Regions from separate parts of the Homo sapiens genome. Here all the other regions are linked to region 4. Evidence: promoter capture Hi-C in 16 types of primary human blood cells and fetal thymus (Javierre and others, 2016). All regions are on one chromosome and are shown on one strand. Each heading gives the region's core, a stretch centred on a gene start or on the middle of the fragment in contact. The rest is flanking DNA. Distances are from core to core; before and after follow the strand shown. Region 1 overlaps UBE3B (ubiquitin protein ligase E3B). Region 2 overlaps MYO1H (myosin IH). Region 3 overlaps MYO1H (myosin IH). Region 4 holds the start of FAM222A-AS1 (FAM222A antisense RNA 1).

Region 1 (3,762 bases), core at 229-2,728, 270 kb before region 4:
ATCAATGTTTTTTCTTCTTCACTGTCACTTTTTGACTAGACTGCCATATTTTGGAGATGCTAAAACAAGACAAATGATTCAAAGGGAATAGAAATCACCCAAAATCCTTTTCAAGAGGTGGAATATAAATTTTTAAAAGTGTAATTATGAACTTAAAAACATGAGAAACACTAGACTAGAAGAAGGGAGATCAAGTAAGGTGCAGCTTCATGAATTTGAAATATCTACCTGAGCTGAGATAAAGTGGTTTCTGGAGAGGAACCAGCTCTGCTGCCCCAGCTGTTTTCTTGTTCACATATCTGCTCGAGGCATGGGGTCCCTGGCAGTTACCCTTGCAGCAGAAAACTAAAGGCCTGGGGAGGAAATCCCCAAATTTTTCTTTTGTTGTACCTGAGTGACATCCCTGGGTCCTATCTAGTTAAAAAGACTCATTGCTAGGGAACAGCCTGCCCCAGCGTGACACCTCAGCCTGAGGAGGATGGGGCGGAGGTGCTGAGAGTCAGGAGGCTGTGGGAGGTAAGTGAAGGAGAGCAGCACCTCCGCAGACAGCCTGCTCTCCGCTCCACTTCCTCTTCTTGGAGGGACTTGGACGACTTGCTTTGCCTTGCTTTCCTCATCTGAAACCTGGGGATAATTTTCACCCTCCCTTTGATAGGGCTTTCTAGAAAGATTGAATGAGATAATGCATGTGAAGCACCTACCAGCAGGCAGGCCTGGCCGTACTCAGGGGTGGCGGCTATTAACAATATGATGATCAATGTGGGAACCACTAGGAGTCTCACCTCACCTTCTTGAGCAGGAAGGTGACAGCAGATTCCAGGAAGTTGAGGGATGCTGAGTGCAGTGTGGAGTCAGGCAAGGAACCCCTGGAATGCAAGGAAACACTGAGGAGGCTGCTGAGTCATCTAGATTTGGCCCCCCACCACCTGCAAGCCAGCTATGAGGAGGGAGGCAGTGCAGTGGGTACAAGATTGTTTTTGTCACCTGGGTGGTAGCAAGTGTCTTCGAGAAGAGTGTGACTCATGGAGCTTGGGGACCTGGGGAAAGCAGACAAGATGAAGAGTCAATGCCCTTGACGTACCAGCCCCTCAGCAATGATTTGTTAGTTCCACTTTTTATTTTTGTAATCTTCTTTGCCATGTTGAGTGCCAGGTCCTAGCTACAGCTCCGAGTGGAAGGCCATTAGGAACTGTGTGGGCTGGCCCTGGCCCTGCATCAGATGGAACTGACAGACCAGGTCTCCTCTGCTCTCTCCTAGCCTTAACGAGTCAATGCACTTGATCACCAAACAGCTGCAGTTCTTGTGGGGGGTGCCTCTGATCCGGATCTTCTTCTGTGACATCCTGAGCAAGAAGCTACTGGAGAGCCAGGAGCCAGCCCACGCACAGCCAGCATCCCCTCAGAATGTGCTCCCAGTGAAGAGTGAGTGACGGGAGCAGGCCCAACCCTGTAGCTCCACTTGGCTGAAGTACAGCTCCTGTTTCTTCCTATATGGATGTTCCGCTGTGTTTGTGGGATGCTCTAACTTTGTTTTTGTTGTTATCGTTCTTGTTGTTAGAGACAGAGTCTCACTGTATTGCCCAGGCTACAGTGCAGTGGCATGATCATAGCTTACTAGCCTCTAACTCCTAGGCTCAGGTGATCCTCCCACGTCAGCCTCCCAAGTATAATAGCTGGGACTACAGGCGTGTACTGCCATGCCTGGCTAATTTTTTTTTTTTTTTAATTTTTGTAGAGATGGGGGCCTTACCTTATTGCCCAGGTTTGTTTCCAATTCCTGACCTCAAGTGATCCTCCTACCTCAGCCTCCCAAAGTGCTGGGGTGACATATATGAGCCACCATACCTGGCCTCCAGCTTGTTCCACAACAATTTTGAGGCTTGTTAGGTCACTAAGTTCATATATAGCAAAACAAAAAATCCATAAGAATAGAAAACAAGGATTGGGGAAATAGAAATAGGTGAACACAATCAAGATTGGGTCATAAAAGCATGTCCACACACATATGTTACATTAGGGCCACTGTGGCTACCTGTGAACTTCAGTTTGGCTGTGAACCAACATGAAATGTTTCAGAAACCGACATGAAAAGGGGTCTGTGGATGCTTTCTTCTAATTTCTTAGAAGTAGAGCTTTTCTGAGTTCTTAAGAAAATAAATCTCCCATGTGGGACTCCTTATAAAGGAGCCACTCACTGAACCACAGGCGGGGCTAGCGCTTCAGTGGCTTTCCTATCGCAGGGTCAGTAATGGGTTCCATGGGAAGGTTCTCGTTGCACGCTCTTATTAAAAGTTATGGAAAGGCCACTAATGCATAATTTGACAGAGTTACCTGCCTGTGGTGGGTTTTCAGGTTCAGGGTGTCTGTTCTTCTACTGAGTGTGTTGCAAAACTCTGTCTCATAGCTAGCAGTAAGCGTGGGCTCAGCAAATGTGACTCCAGCAGGATATCAATGGGAAGGTTGAAAACAAAGGTAGAATATCATTCAAAACCAGGTGTCAGAACTAGAGGTTGTCACGCCTTACTTCCCTCTAAAGGCACAGAAAATAGAGATGTAGCCAGGGCCCCTGCCTTTGCCCCTCTTTCCCTAATATAGTCCTCTGAATTTTTACCATTGTGGGTTTTGAAATTTGGTGATTTCCAGTATAAGAATCCCATGTAAGATTTGAATATGCCTGGCTTATTCTGAGAAATATTTGGGTATTCTGAAGAGATCTTTGGGTTGTACCTAAAAACCTGTTGTTAATGTTTTTCTAATTTATCCCAAAGAAATGCCTTGAATTGAGTGAGTTGCCCCACTGTCTGGCCTGGCTGTGCATTTAGAGCTTTACTGAAATGCTCTTCCTTTTCCAGGGTGGGATTTGGCAGCTGGCTGAGCTGCTGCTCACATGTCTTCTTTTCTCCATGCCAGGTCTCCTAAAGCGTGCTTTTCAAAAGTCGGCATCAGTCCGGAATATTCTCAGGCCTGTCGGGGGTAAACGGGTCGACTCTGCAGAAGTCCAGAAGGTTTGCAACATCTGTGTCCTCTACCAGACCTCGCTGACAACTCTCACACAGATTCGGCTGCAGATACTCACAGGTTCGCAGTCCCCAGGGCATCTTCTTCACCTCTCACATTTGGCAGACAGTTTGTCTTAGCAAAAGTCGATGTTTTTTTCTGGCTTCTTTGACTCTGAAAATAGATTCTGAAGGAGGGCATTTTTGAGCTGTTCCTCTTAGAGATTAGTCCACCTCAGTTACATTGCTCATGCTCACCTCAATCATAAGCACTTGCATCTCATTCCTGTTTTGTGACTCTTACTTTAATTATGAAGTAGAATTTACTTTTAAAAAGTTTCTGTTTTCTGAGTAAAGAAGCAAAAAAGATAGGGTTGCAAAAAAAAAAGGAAAAAGAAAACCACTTTTAATTCCATAATCCAAAAACAGTCAACTGTGCCTGAGTGTACTGCACATATAAAATAAATATATTTAAATTGAAATATACAGCACTATGCTTTCCTTTCCAATAATCATTTTACCATGTCACAAATTCTTCGAAAACCTTATCTTTATTGGCTACATAGTATCTCATCACATGGATATGCCCAACATTTTCCTTTTTAGCTTAACATGGAGGAAAGTCCCCTCTGTGAGCACAGAATTGGGTATCACAGGCTTTTAGGTTGCAGCACAGTTGTTGTTATGAATTGGTCTTACAAGTACAAAAGGCCTTTGTAAACCGTGGAAGCCTTTTATTACATGAAGGATTAAGAGCTTCTCTGCT
Region 2 (3,887 bases), core at 713-3,212, 330 kb before region 4:
TTCAGGGCTTCCCTAGAAACCTTCCATAGCCCCCTCTGTTCTGTCTCCCCCTGGTTCAGTTGTTGCCTGAGTACTCCCAGGTAAGAACTGATGACATTCATCCGACCTTCCATCTCTGAGGCTAACAGAGTGCTGCGGTGGGCGTCCAGATGTTTGTTGAATGGACAAAGCCTTCTGGAAAAGCCTTCTGTATTTCCATACGATTGTGCTCACCTTCTAATGCCAGCAGTGAACTCTTTCAGCCATCAAACTGGAAGCCCACTGGCGTGGGGCCCTGGCTCGGAAGGCAATCCAAAGGAGAAAGTGGGCCGTGCGGATTATCAGAAAGTAAGTTCTCAGGTACAACAGAGAGGACAGGTCACTAAATGCTGGTACCCTGCAGGGATGGTCATGGAGGTAGATGAGTTCTTTGTGATTTTTTGATTTGTGCAGAAAGGAAAAACTCCCTTCAGAATGCCATTAGGAATTCAGGTCCATCCCTTTGCTCTGAGCTGAATTTGATGGTGATCACAACTCAATGTATTTGGAATTTCTCTTAGCCTGGCTCAAAAGTCACAAAGTCAAATGCCTTCTGATGCCAGGCAGGTAAAGTGAGTGAGTCTCATGGGCTGGGATAAGACAACAGGGCATGGTGGAGACCAGCAAACTGGAACGCTCAGTCTACCTCAAGGTGGGGCGGTAACTAGCCCATTCCAGTTTACTGCTGCTGTGGGGAAATGTAGCCAGATGGCTTGAATTTTCAAGGAACGCTGAAATCTGGCTTTTGGGGTTTTGTTGTTGTTGTTTGTTTTTTTTGTTTGAGATGGAGTCTCACTCTGTCGCCCAGGCTGGAGTACAATGGTGTGATCTCGGCTCACTGCAACCTCCGCCTTCTGGGTTCAAGCGATTCTCCTGCCTCAGCCTTCCAAGTAGCTGAGATTACAGGCACACACCACCACACCCGGCTAAATTTTTTGTATTTTTAGTAGAGAGACAGGGTTTCACCATGTTGGTCAGGCTAGTCTCGAATTCTTGACCTCAAATGATCCGCCTGCCTCAGCCTGCCAAAATGCTGGGATTACAGGCATGAGCCACCATGCCCAGCCTTGAAATCTGGCTTTTATGCCCTGCTTCCTAACTTTTTAAAATTGGCAGCTAATTAAAGCTCCTCAAAACAAAACAAAAGGCCGTGTGGGTGAAATCGAACATATATGTGGGGCAGATTTGGCCTCTGGCCTATGTGGTCATCTCCACAGCCTCTACCACTTTGGCCGCCTCTGAATCAAAGAAGGGGGAAGAGAATGTAAATCTCGGTGAAGAAATGGTCCAGAAAAGTAAGAAAACATTTTCCTTTTTAGGTTCATTAAAGGATTCATCAGTCGCAACAAACCCCTCTGTCCTGACAACGAGGAATTTATCGTGTTTGTGCGGAAGAATTACATCTTGAATCTCCGGTATCACCTTCCAAAGACTGTCCTGGACAAGAGCTGGCTGAGGCCTCCTGGCATCTTGGAAAATGTAAGGACTAATCTGGGATTTCCAGTGTTGTAAGTAGCACGGGCACTGACGAAGCTTAACTCTTGCATGTCTTTGTGCTGCCTCCCTTTGGCTTGAAAGGGCTGCCCTGGCAAAGCCCTTCTTCCCAAGGATGCTGCACAAGAAATTGAACTCCTCAGAATTTGCGATGTCCTTAGTAGCATTATAAAGCCACTGGAGTGTCCTTAGTAGCATTATAAAGCCACTGGAGGTTGTTTAAACAGAGCACTTTTTTTTTTTTTTTGAGATGGAGTCTTGCTCTGTCACCCAGGCTAGAGTGCAGTGGCGCGATCTTGGCTCACTGCAACCTCCGCCTCCTAGGCTCAAGTGATTCTGGTGTGTCAGCCCCCCTGAATAACTGAGATTACAGGCGCCCGCCACCATGCCTGGCTAATTTTTGTATTTTTAGTAGAGACGGAGTTTTGCCATGTTGGCCAGGTTAGTCTCGAACTCCTGACCTCAAATGATCTGTCCGCCTCAGCCTCCCAAAGTGCTGGGATTACAGGTGCGAGTCACCGTGCCCAGCCGACAGAGTACTTTCGAATCATTTCTATTCCTGACGTAGCCTTCCTAGAATAGCATCCCTCAAGAGATGATCTGAGGACCCTCTGTGTCTGGAACTTAGAGGCGGGGCTGTTGTAAGAGTCCCGGGCTCCACTTTGGACCCACTGAGTCAGAATCTCCAGGAATCTCATTATAGCCAGTTCTGCAGGTGAGTCATAAACATATTCAAGTTTGAGAATCATTCGTTAAGCAACAGCAAAAAGTTGGGAGAGGATCAGGTTAGCTGCTGTGACTATAAAATATAAAATATTAACACTGTGCTTGAAATCAAACTGAATTCAGCAGTGTTTTTTTAAAGCTTCATTTTGATCGCCACAGCCCCAGACAGGGAGTGAGTGAGGCAAGTGGAAAGAAGTGTGTTCTCCACACAGGCATCAGATCTGCTCAGGAAAATGTGCGTGAGGAACCTGGTGCAGAAGTACTGCCGCGGGATCACAGCTGAGCGGAAAGCAATGGTAGGGACATGATGTCTGCGGTGGCCGGTGGTGGGGGTGGGTGTAAGAGTGGGTCCTGAGTGTCAGTCCTCCTCATCCACCATTTCACCTATAAGCGGGGGTCATGCTAGTCCCATGCTTTGAAATGTTCAAGATAATTGCAGGTAGACCTGCAGAGAGCCCTGGATGAATGCCAGCTGTTACTGTAATCAGCATGGCTCCGTTTGTTACCATGGGAACACAATCACAACGGCTCCTGCCATCCATCCACCGGAGCAGAGAATGTAGACCCCTTTCTGCTGGAAATCTGTTTTTCACCGTGCTAACCTGCGGGTCTTTTGTGTAAAGGGCTAGAAGAGTAACTATTTCAGGGTTTGTGGCCTTTCTCTGTTGGAATTACTCAACTCTGCTGCTACAGTGAGAAAGCAGCCATGGACAATGTGTGCATGAATGGCATGGCTCTGTCCCAATAGAATGTTACTTACAAAAAGGGACAGCAGGCTGAGTTTGGCCTGCAGGCTGTGGTTTCCCAATCCCTGATCTACAAGAAACTGCTCTTGGAACTCTGGAAAATCCACTTTCAGGAAGGTAGTAAGGGAACGAGCAGAAACGTCAACCCAGTCTCTACCAATATGACTTTCAGGGCATTTTGGCCAAAGCCAGGAAGGTGTTCTGACTTGTATGCTCCAGGGTAACAAGGCTCCCACAGTTTATCCAGCAAAGGATGTGACCTCAATGGGTCTAGAGCTCTTCTATCCCAAAGAAGCCTGTGGCTACCATTTTTATACTTTCAATTGTGTATTACCAGATGCAGCAAAAGGTAGTTACAAGTGAAATCTTCAGGGGAAGGAAAGACGGCTACACAGAAAGTTTAAATCAACCCTTTGTCAACAGTCGGATAGGTAAGTACATTTTCCAGCCTATGTACTTGGCTTTCCAATTCTAAAAGGAGTTAAAGGGTGGGGTGCGGTGGCTCATGCCCATAATCTCAGCACTTTGGGAGGCCGAGGTGGGCGGATTGCCTGAGCTCAGGAGTTCGAGACCAGCCTGGCCAACATGGCGAAACCCCATCTCAACTAAAATACAAAATATTAGCAGGGCGTGGTGGTGTCCACCTGTAGTCCCAACTACTCGGGAGGCAGAGGCAGGAGAATGGCTTGAACCCAGGAGGCGGAGGACGCAGTGAGCCGAGATCATGCCACTGCACTCCAGCCTGGGAGACAGAGCGAGACTCTGTCTCCAAAAAAATAAGTCAAAGGCAGATGCTCAACTCTGCAGCATTTCCTGATGGCTATTTCCCCACCTGAGATCTTAGCACAGAGATGCATAACAAAACTAGCAGATACCAATGACTTTTCCACAGGATTGGTACTT
Region 3 (3,946 bases), core at 1,284-3,783, 390 kb before region 4:
TCGTGATTATTGATACTAATGATGACAAAAGCAAGCACTCACTAAATTTAAATTGTGCCTGGCAGGGTTCCATGTGCTTTACATGGTTCTGGTGAAACTGACAACCCTATGAGGTAAGTACAATTATAATTCCGTTTTATAGAGATGAAACAAGAGACTTGGGACTCTCCCAAGATTATACTGCCAGGAAGCAACAGAGATAGGATTTGAACTTGGAAATGCTCGTGTTCCAACGTCTTAATCATTATGCTATGCTATATGTGGTACAGCATGGAAATATTTGGGATTACTAAAATGTTTCTTTTTTTCTTTCTTTCTTTTCTTTTTTTTTTTTTAAGACAATGTCTCACTCTGTTGCCTAGGCTGGAGTGTAGCAGTGCAATCATGGCTCATTGCAGCCTCAGCCTTCTGAGGTTCATGCGATCCTCCCACTTCAGCATGAGCAGCTGGGACTACAGGCACGCACTGCCACACCCAGCTAGTTTTCATATTTTTAGTAGAGACAGAGTTTCAACATGTTACTCAGGCTGGTTTCAAACTCCTGGGCTCAAGTGATCCGCCTGCCTTGGCCTCCCAAAGTGCCAGGATTACAAACACGAGCCTACCACGCCCAGCCTGAAATCACTAAAATATTGTTTGATCTAAATGCATTGTTTTGAATGTTAGGTTGCTAGTGATTAAGGCTCTTCTAGCTCCATTTGGCTAGTGTAGGGAGACATCTGGTGGCCATTCTGTTTTTTAAAACTTTTTTTATGGAAAACTTCAAATTTATGCAAAGTAAACAGAATAGTATCATAAATCCCCCTCTACCCACCACCTAGCTTTAACAATTAACATTCTGCCATTCCGTTTATATTCATACCTCCAGCCAATCCCTACCTCTTCCCCACTTATTTTTTACGGTTGTTTTTCAAAAATAAAATTTACATATAGTGAAATGCACACAATTTTAACAGTTTATCTTGACCGATAGATATACTCATGTAACCCACAGCCCTATCATGATATGGAATGTTTTCATCACTCCAAAAATGTCATTTGCCTGACAACTCCTCAACTAGGCAACAATTGTTCTGATTTTTCACTGTGGATTAGTTTTGCTTGTCCCAGTGTGCCATATCAATGGAATCCTACAGTACGACTCTTTTGTGTCTGGGCTCTTTCACTCAGCATAATGTCTGTGAGAGTCATCCATGCTCTTGCGTGTACCCGTTATTTCTCTTTTATTGCTGTCCTCCTTCTATTGTACAGATGGGCCACAGCCATTCTCCAGTTGATGGGGATTTGGATTGTTTCCAGTTAGGGGCCGTTCTGAATAAAGTTGAGCATGAGTTGAACTTCATGTTCAAGTCTTTTTGTAGACATATGTTTACATTTCTCTTGTGTAAATACTTAGGAGTGGAATCGCTGGATCAAAGAATAGAGGCATGGTTAACTTCATTAGAAACTGCCAGATCTTTTTCCCAAAGTGATTCTCTTTGCATTCCTACCAGAAGTGCGAGAGAATTCTGTCTGCTCCGCATCCTCACCAGTATTTGGTGTTGTCAGTGTTTTTAATTTTAACTATTGTGGTGGTATCTCATTGTGGTTTTAATTTGTGTTTCCCTGATGACTAACAATGTTGACCATTTTTCTATGTGTGTATTGCCAATTTGTCTATCTTCCTTTGTGAAGTGTCTATTCAAGTCTTTTGCCAAATTTTCATTGGGTTTGTCTTTTTATTATTGGACTGTAGGTGTCTTTTATTCTGGATACAAATTCTTTGCGTCTGTATAATTTAGGAATATTTTCTGCTGTTCTGTGACTTGCCTATTTTCTTAACAGTGTCTTCTAATGAGAAGCTTTATATTTGGTGAAGTCTGATTTCTTATTTTGTGTCTTTTATTATTATTTCTTCCTGGCTCTCATCTAAGAAAACTTTGCCTTCCCCTGGTTACAAAGATGGTCCCCTTGTTTACTTCCAGTAGCTTTATATAGATTTTAAATTTGCATTTAGGTCTAAGATGCATCTCAAGTTCGTGTGTGTGTGTGTGTGTGTGTGTGTGTGTGTGTGTGTGTGTGTGTAGTGTAGTGTAATGTAATATAGGGACTGAAATGCATTTTTACTTTCTTTTTCTATTTATATATTTTTAAGTAGAGATGGGAATCTCCCTGTGTTGCCCAGGCTGGTCTCCAACTCCTGGCTTTAGACAATCCTCCTGCCTCAGCATCCCAGTGTGCTGGGATCACAGCTGTGAGCCACCACACACAACTGCAATTTTTTTTCTTTATAAATATCTAGTTGTTCCTGCACCATTGGATGGAAATGTTTTCCATTTCTGTGCTGAATTGTTTTGGGACCTCTACTGAAAATCAATTGAGACGCAGTCTTATTAAACACAGTCTTATTCTAGCTTTGTTTTTCTTTTGCAAGGTTAATTTGGCTATGCTAGGACCTTTGCATATCCATATGTACCAGTTGTCAATTTATTGCCTCTCAGATCCAAATTCACCCTTCATTACCTGCTGAGCAATAACCAACTGCACGCTTTAGGCATTTCTCCTTAAAGTGAACACAATGTCATTTTTGTCACTAGAGGGCACTGGAGGGACATTGCAAAGGCAGGCCGCTTCTCTTCCTGATGTCCTTTGCTATGTTTTGCTTTTTCTTGTTTTCAGACTGTACATTCTGCTGCACGTGGTATGTGGGGGGGACACACACTAACCGTGTGCCCAGAGCACATAGTCTCTCAGTGACCTCACAGCTCTGGCCAAGGGCCTGGTGACCACTTTGTCACAGCCCTCCTGATGCAGACATTACACACTCCAGGCTTCATACCTACTCCTGTTCCCTCTCCCAACGCACACCTGCCCTCTGGCCGCAGCTTGCCTGAGCCCTGGAAGGTTGATTTCCTTGGCCCCCTCCATGGTCTCCCATCCAGCAGCGCGGGTGCTCAGGAAGGTCATGCCTGGTGCCTGCCCAGTGACCGAACCAGCTCTGGCCCTGGTATCCTGGTGAGATTCTTTGCCATCCAATGGGCTGTAGCCACACCTTCTCCAGTGACATCTGAAGCCCATCCTTGGAGAGGAACACTCCAAGTTTGTCCTTCCTTAAATATTCCTCTGTAGCAAGAATTTCCCTTTCTGGCCCAAACTCCTCACCACCCATGTGAGAATTACAAAGTGAGTTTACACAATTAACACTTATTGAAATAAAGAAAAATTAATTTTAAAAAAAGAAAAAATTCAAGCTTGACTAATCAACATAAAGGAAACATTAATTTAAAAAAAACATTTATTGAGTCCATGGTTGTCAGGAAAGCAAGTCTGGGTATGTTGTCTAGGTTCATTTTCTGGCTGCGTCTTTTGGCAGATTTTGGGCGTGGCTTATGACATTCCTATGCCTCAGTTTTCTCATCTGTAGAATGGGCATCATAATAGTATTTCATAGGGTCAGAATGAAGATCAAATGAAACAGTATAAGTCAAGTGTTTAGAATAGTACCTAGCAGTAAATACTTGGTTCCTATCAGCTGCTGCTATTCCTATTTTTTATGATTATGATCTTGTATCCCCAACCATATTGTAAACTCTAAGTGAAGACGGCATAATTTAATGCTGGCTCTCTACTATCCCAGGGTTTAGCATCTTGTTATTTCCATGCATTAGACGTGTAATAGATATTACCAAATAGATGAGCTGCTGAAGAATGTTCTATTTCCCGTAGAAAGAAGACGTGAGGAGGAAACACATCCGTCTGCACATGGAAGGGGCGCTGACTGCCCGGGACAAGGTCGGGGTTCAGGATTTTGTGCTATTGGACGCGTACACCAGCGAATCTGCCTTTGTCGACAACCTCCGCAAGCGTTTCAGCGAGAACCTCATATACGTAACGTGACCCACTTCTCAGCTGTTTTTCTAGGGTGGTTGTTCCCTTCTTGCCTTCACGACTTTGATGAGTGTGAATA
Region 4 (3,512 bases), core at 951-3,450:
CTAGCCCAATATCAGGGCCGGAGGCACTGGAGAACTTCCGGCTAAGGCAGGCCTCCCCTCCCATTCACAGAGCCCTGCCAGGGTGGCTGGCAATGGTGAAGTCCAGGGCAGAGATGGGGACAGAGGGGACGCCTTGGATTCGACTCTGTGGTGGGTGGTCCACCTCCCTGAGACCAGGCATCCACGTCGGGCAGCACATGCTACCCAGTCCACAGAAGAGGAAACAGAGGCTCCGAGAGGAAGGGACTGTGTCCAGGGCGGGACCCAGGCCCTTCTGCACTGGGTCAATGAGCCAAGCACATCACCCCAGCCCCTGGGGAGCAGGAGCCGGGCCCTGCAGGGTGAGGAGCTGGGAAAAGCAGAGCTCCATGGAAGGCAACCGGGAATCATCACAAATAGGACATAACTAGTATAAACTGCAATTGACAGAGTGCTTTTCTGACCTCACTTGAGTCTATCAGGTAGATGATAAAATCAGGCCCATTTTACAGATGAGGACACAACCTGACCAACGGCCACGAGGATGTTGAGAGGGAGCGAGGTGTTCTGGCTGCAAGCCCCACCCCCACCCTCATTCATAATCAAAGCCCGCCTGGGTGCAGCCGGAACCCGGGGGAGCCTGGACGGGGCAAGCCCAGCAGGCCCAGCCTCTGCAGTGAGCTAGACTTGGGTTCCAATCCTGATAATGCCACCGTGAGTGACCCTAACCAATCCATTTCCCAAGGGGGGGCGGCACCAGAACCAGAGATGGAATTCAAGCAGACAAAAGCACAGTGTGAGCACTCGGGGAGGGAGTGGGGCAGGAAACCAAGGTCTAGGGCCAGGTGTTACACTGGGAGGTGGCCTATGTCTCAGCTGTTCCCAGGTGTCACCACTGGGGCCACCCAAGCACCAACTTGGTCACCCAGGTCCCCATGTCCTTGGTCAACTGCCAGGCGTACCCACACTGGGGCATCAGGAGAGGGGAAACGGGAGAGGCTGGAGCCACTCTCCATGCCCGGTCCCTCATATTTGGATATCAGAGCAAAGGATGCACCTGCTATCCTGGAAAAACCTCCTCATCCTCCACAGGGTGGGGTCTGTGTGCGTGGCAATGTAGGGGCGCATGGCACAGTCTGGGTCTGGGCCCAGGAACCCAGCTGGGGCTCTAGCCCTGACTACCTGTGCCTCCTTGGGCCTCAGTTTCCCCATCTAGGAACTGGGCTGGCTGATCTCAAAGTGCCCTCCGGTGGCCATTCTAGCATGGTTTCTTTATACAATCAATCACCTTTGATTACCACATTGATGGGGGGAGGACAGGTGACGAAAGCATTGCTATCACTGCTACAATTACTGAGATCCCACACTTAACTACAGGCAGACCAGATACCAGGCTCGGGGCTAAACGTTACTTGTGCCTCACAACCACTCGGCGCAACAGAGGTGCATGCACCCACATTACAGACAAGGTTAGTGAGACCCACAGAAGGGCAATCACTTTGCCCAAAGTCACACAGCTGAGGATGAAGAATGGAGAAGTGGCTGGGATAGAACACAGGCCTGTCTGATTCTGAGTCCTAGTTCCCAGCTGCAACCCTTTGCAGAGAATAGAAAACAACTGTCAACCGCCAAATGTGGCCAATTTGGCTCCAGAACCCAGGCACAGCCTTGGATCCCAGAGCCCCAACTGCCCAGACATCCCGGTGGGTGAGGGAGAAAGAGAGGAGAAGCCACCATCTCATCCAGGCCCCGGGCAGGAGCTGCAGTCCTTCTCTAGGTCTCTGTTCTGACACTAGGATCCTTCTCTCTCTACTTAGCTGTCCTGGGCTCACACCCTTTACCACGGAGCTGTCCAATACGGTAGCCTGGTGTGCAGAAAACCTCGGCTATCACTTCCTGTCATAGTGACCATTAGAAGATCACCCCAGGTCAGAGACAGGTGACCTTACAGAGAGATCAGAGCTGCCCCAGAAGGCCACGGGGGCTCAGGCGCAGATTTGGATAGAGGAAGCTATGTTAGTAGACACTCACCTTTCCAGGGTGGCTCTGTGTTTTCTTCACTCATATCCCTGTCTTTATATCACAACCCCATTTCTGGAGCGGGGAAACTGAGACAAGTTCCAACTTCTGAACTTGCCATCCAAACAGCGACTCCTAACTTTGCCCTACTCAGCTCCCTCGGCTGCAGCCTGGACTCCTCCACGCGCAGCTCCACGTGTGCCCAGCACCACTGCGCCTGCCCATCCCTCCCGGGCGCTCTTAAAGGGCCCACACCCCGTCCCACCCCCAACGTTGGCCGGAGAAGGTGGAGTCCAGCCAGCGCGATAGGTGAGAGCAAGGGACGAAAGGTTTTCTGTTTAAATTGCCACCATCACCAGCTCGCCAGCGAGTGGCAGGGGGAGGGGAGGAGGCAAGAAAACGGAACTTAGTATCCCACTGACTCCACGTGTGACCCTGGGTGACTTGTGTGCCTCTCTGAGCCTCAATTTCCAGATCTGTTGAAGGAAGTGGTGGCACCTGGAGGAGTGAGGTGGCATCAGGTGATGTGTGGTCAGGATGATAGGGCAGATTCGTCCTGTAAGAGGACCCCTCTGAGTGCTGTGGGATGTAGTTGTCTGAGGGTCAGAACTCGTTCCATCCTGAGGCTGTGTGCAGGTGTGTGTGACCTCAGGCAAGTGATCACTCCTGAGTCATCTATTTCCCAACTGTAAAATGAGGCTCCAACGGGGAGCTGTGGCTCATACCTGTAATCCCAGCACTTTGGGAAGCAAAGGCTGGAGGATCACTTGAGCCCAGGAGTTCAAGACCAGCTTGGGCAGTATCACGAGACCCCTATCTGTACAAACAATTTTAAGATTAGCTGGGTGTAGTGTGTGCCTGTAGTCCCAGATACTCAGAAGGCTGAGGTGGGAGGATCACTTGAGCCCAGGAGGTCAAGGCTGCAGTGAGCCATGATCGCACCACTGCACTACAGCCTGGGCAACAGAACAAGACCTCGTCTCATAAAATAAAATGAGGCTAATATTTTAATGTATGTACCATGTGAGGTTTAACTTAGGAGACAGGTGGTCAAATCCCCTGGGTAGCACAGAGCCATTAGGTAAAAGACATATAACAAAGGTGGAGTATTCCCATCCTTGCCTAGTGCAGCTGACTTCCAAGTCACCTTGGAAAGTGGGTTTCCCAGTCAAAAGAGTTTGAGAAACAGATGCCTATCCCGGCTCTTGGAGATACACAAATCGCATTAACATATTAAAGATGCTAACAGATCCTGCAGGCAAGATTCCCTTTTAACTTCTTTGCAGTGGCACAGTCTCGGCTCACTGTAACCTCTGCCTTCCAGGTTCAAGTGGTTCTCCTGCCTCAGCCTCCTGATTAGCTGGGATTACAGGCATGCTCCACTACACCTGGCTAATTTTTGTATTTTTAGTAGAGATGGGGTTTTGCCATGTTGACCAGGCTGGTCTCAAACTCCTGACCTCAAGTGATCTGCCTGCCTTGAAGGCCTCCCAAAGTGCTGGGATTACAGGCAT

Evidence for each region. The method cuts DNA at HindIII sites, captures the fragments that hold promoters and counts their contacts. A CHiCAGO score of 5 or more calls a contact.
Region 1: a fragment that was not itself captured here is called in contact with the fragment with the promoter of FAM222A-AS1 in region 4 in 5 of 17 cell types (M2 macrophages, endothelial precursors, M1 macrophages and 2 more); the score reaches 8.4 in M2 macrophages.
Region 2: a contact is called between a fragment that was not itself captured here and the fragment with the promoter of FAM222A-AS1 in region 4, in 5 of 17 cell types (activated CD4 T cells, total CD4 T cells, naive CD8 T cells and 2 more). The highest score is 6.4, in activated CD4 T cells.
Region 3: a fragment that was not itself captured here is called in contact with the fragment with the promoter of FAM222A-AS1 in region 4 in 1 of 17 cell types (erythroblasts); the score reaches 5.1 in erythroblasts.

Annotation. Positions count from the first base shown.
Region 1 is chr12:109,500,113-109,503,874 of GRCh38, forward strand. UBE3B (ubiquitin protein ligase E3B) reads left to right here. Exons shown (of 28, transcript NM_130466.4): 13 at 1,259-1,422; 14 at 2,911-3,078. Among named protein-coding and RNA genes, the nearest start is that of UBE3B, 24 kb to the left of the region's middle. The HindIII fragment of the contact is 9,234 bases long and covers 1-3,762 here.
Region 2 is chr12:109,438,294-109,442,180 of GRCh38, forward strand. MYO1H (myosin IH) reads left to right here. Exons shown (of 32, transcript NM_001101421.4): 23 at 243-327; 24 at 1,338-1,497; 25 at 2,451-2,534; 26 at 3,322-3,415. Among named protein-coding and RNA genes, the nearest start is that of KCTD10, 37 kb to the right of the region's middle. The HindIII fragment of the contact is 826 bases long and covers 1,550-2,375 here.
Region 3 is chr12:109,384,978-109,388,923 of GRCh38, forward strand. MYO1H (myosin IH) reads left to right here. Exons shown (of 32, transcript NM_001101421.4): 2 at 3,706-3,867. Among named protein-coding and RNA genes, the nearest start is that of LINC01486, 27 kb to the left of the region's middle. The HindIII fragment of the contact is 1,389 bases long and covers 1,840-3,228 here.
Region 4 is chr12:109,771,287-109,774,798 of GRCh38, forward strand. It overlaps FAM222A-AS1 (FAM222A antisense RNA 1), which reads right to left and starts at 2,201. Exons shown (of 3, transcript NR_026662.2): 1 at 2,011-2,201. RefSeq lists an enhancer at 790-1,289. The HindIII fragment of the contact is 7,576 bases long and covers 1-3,512 here.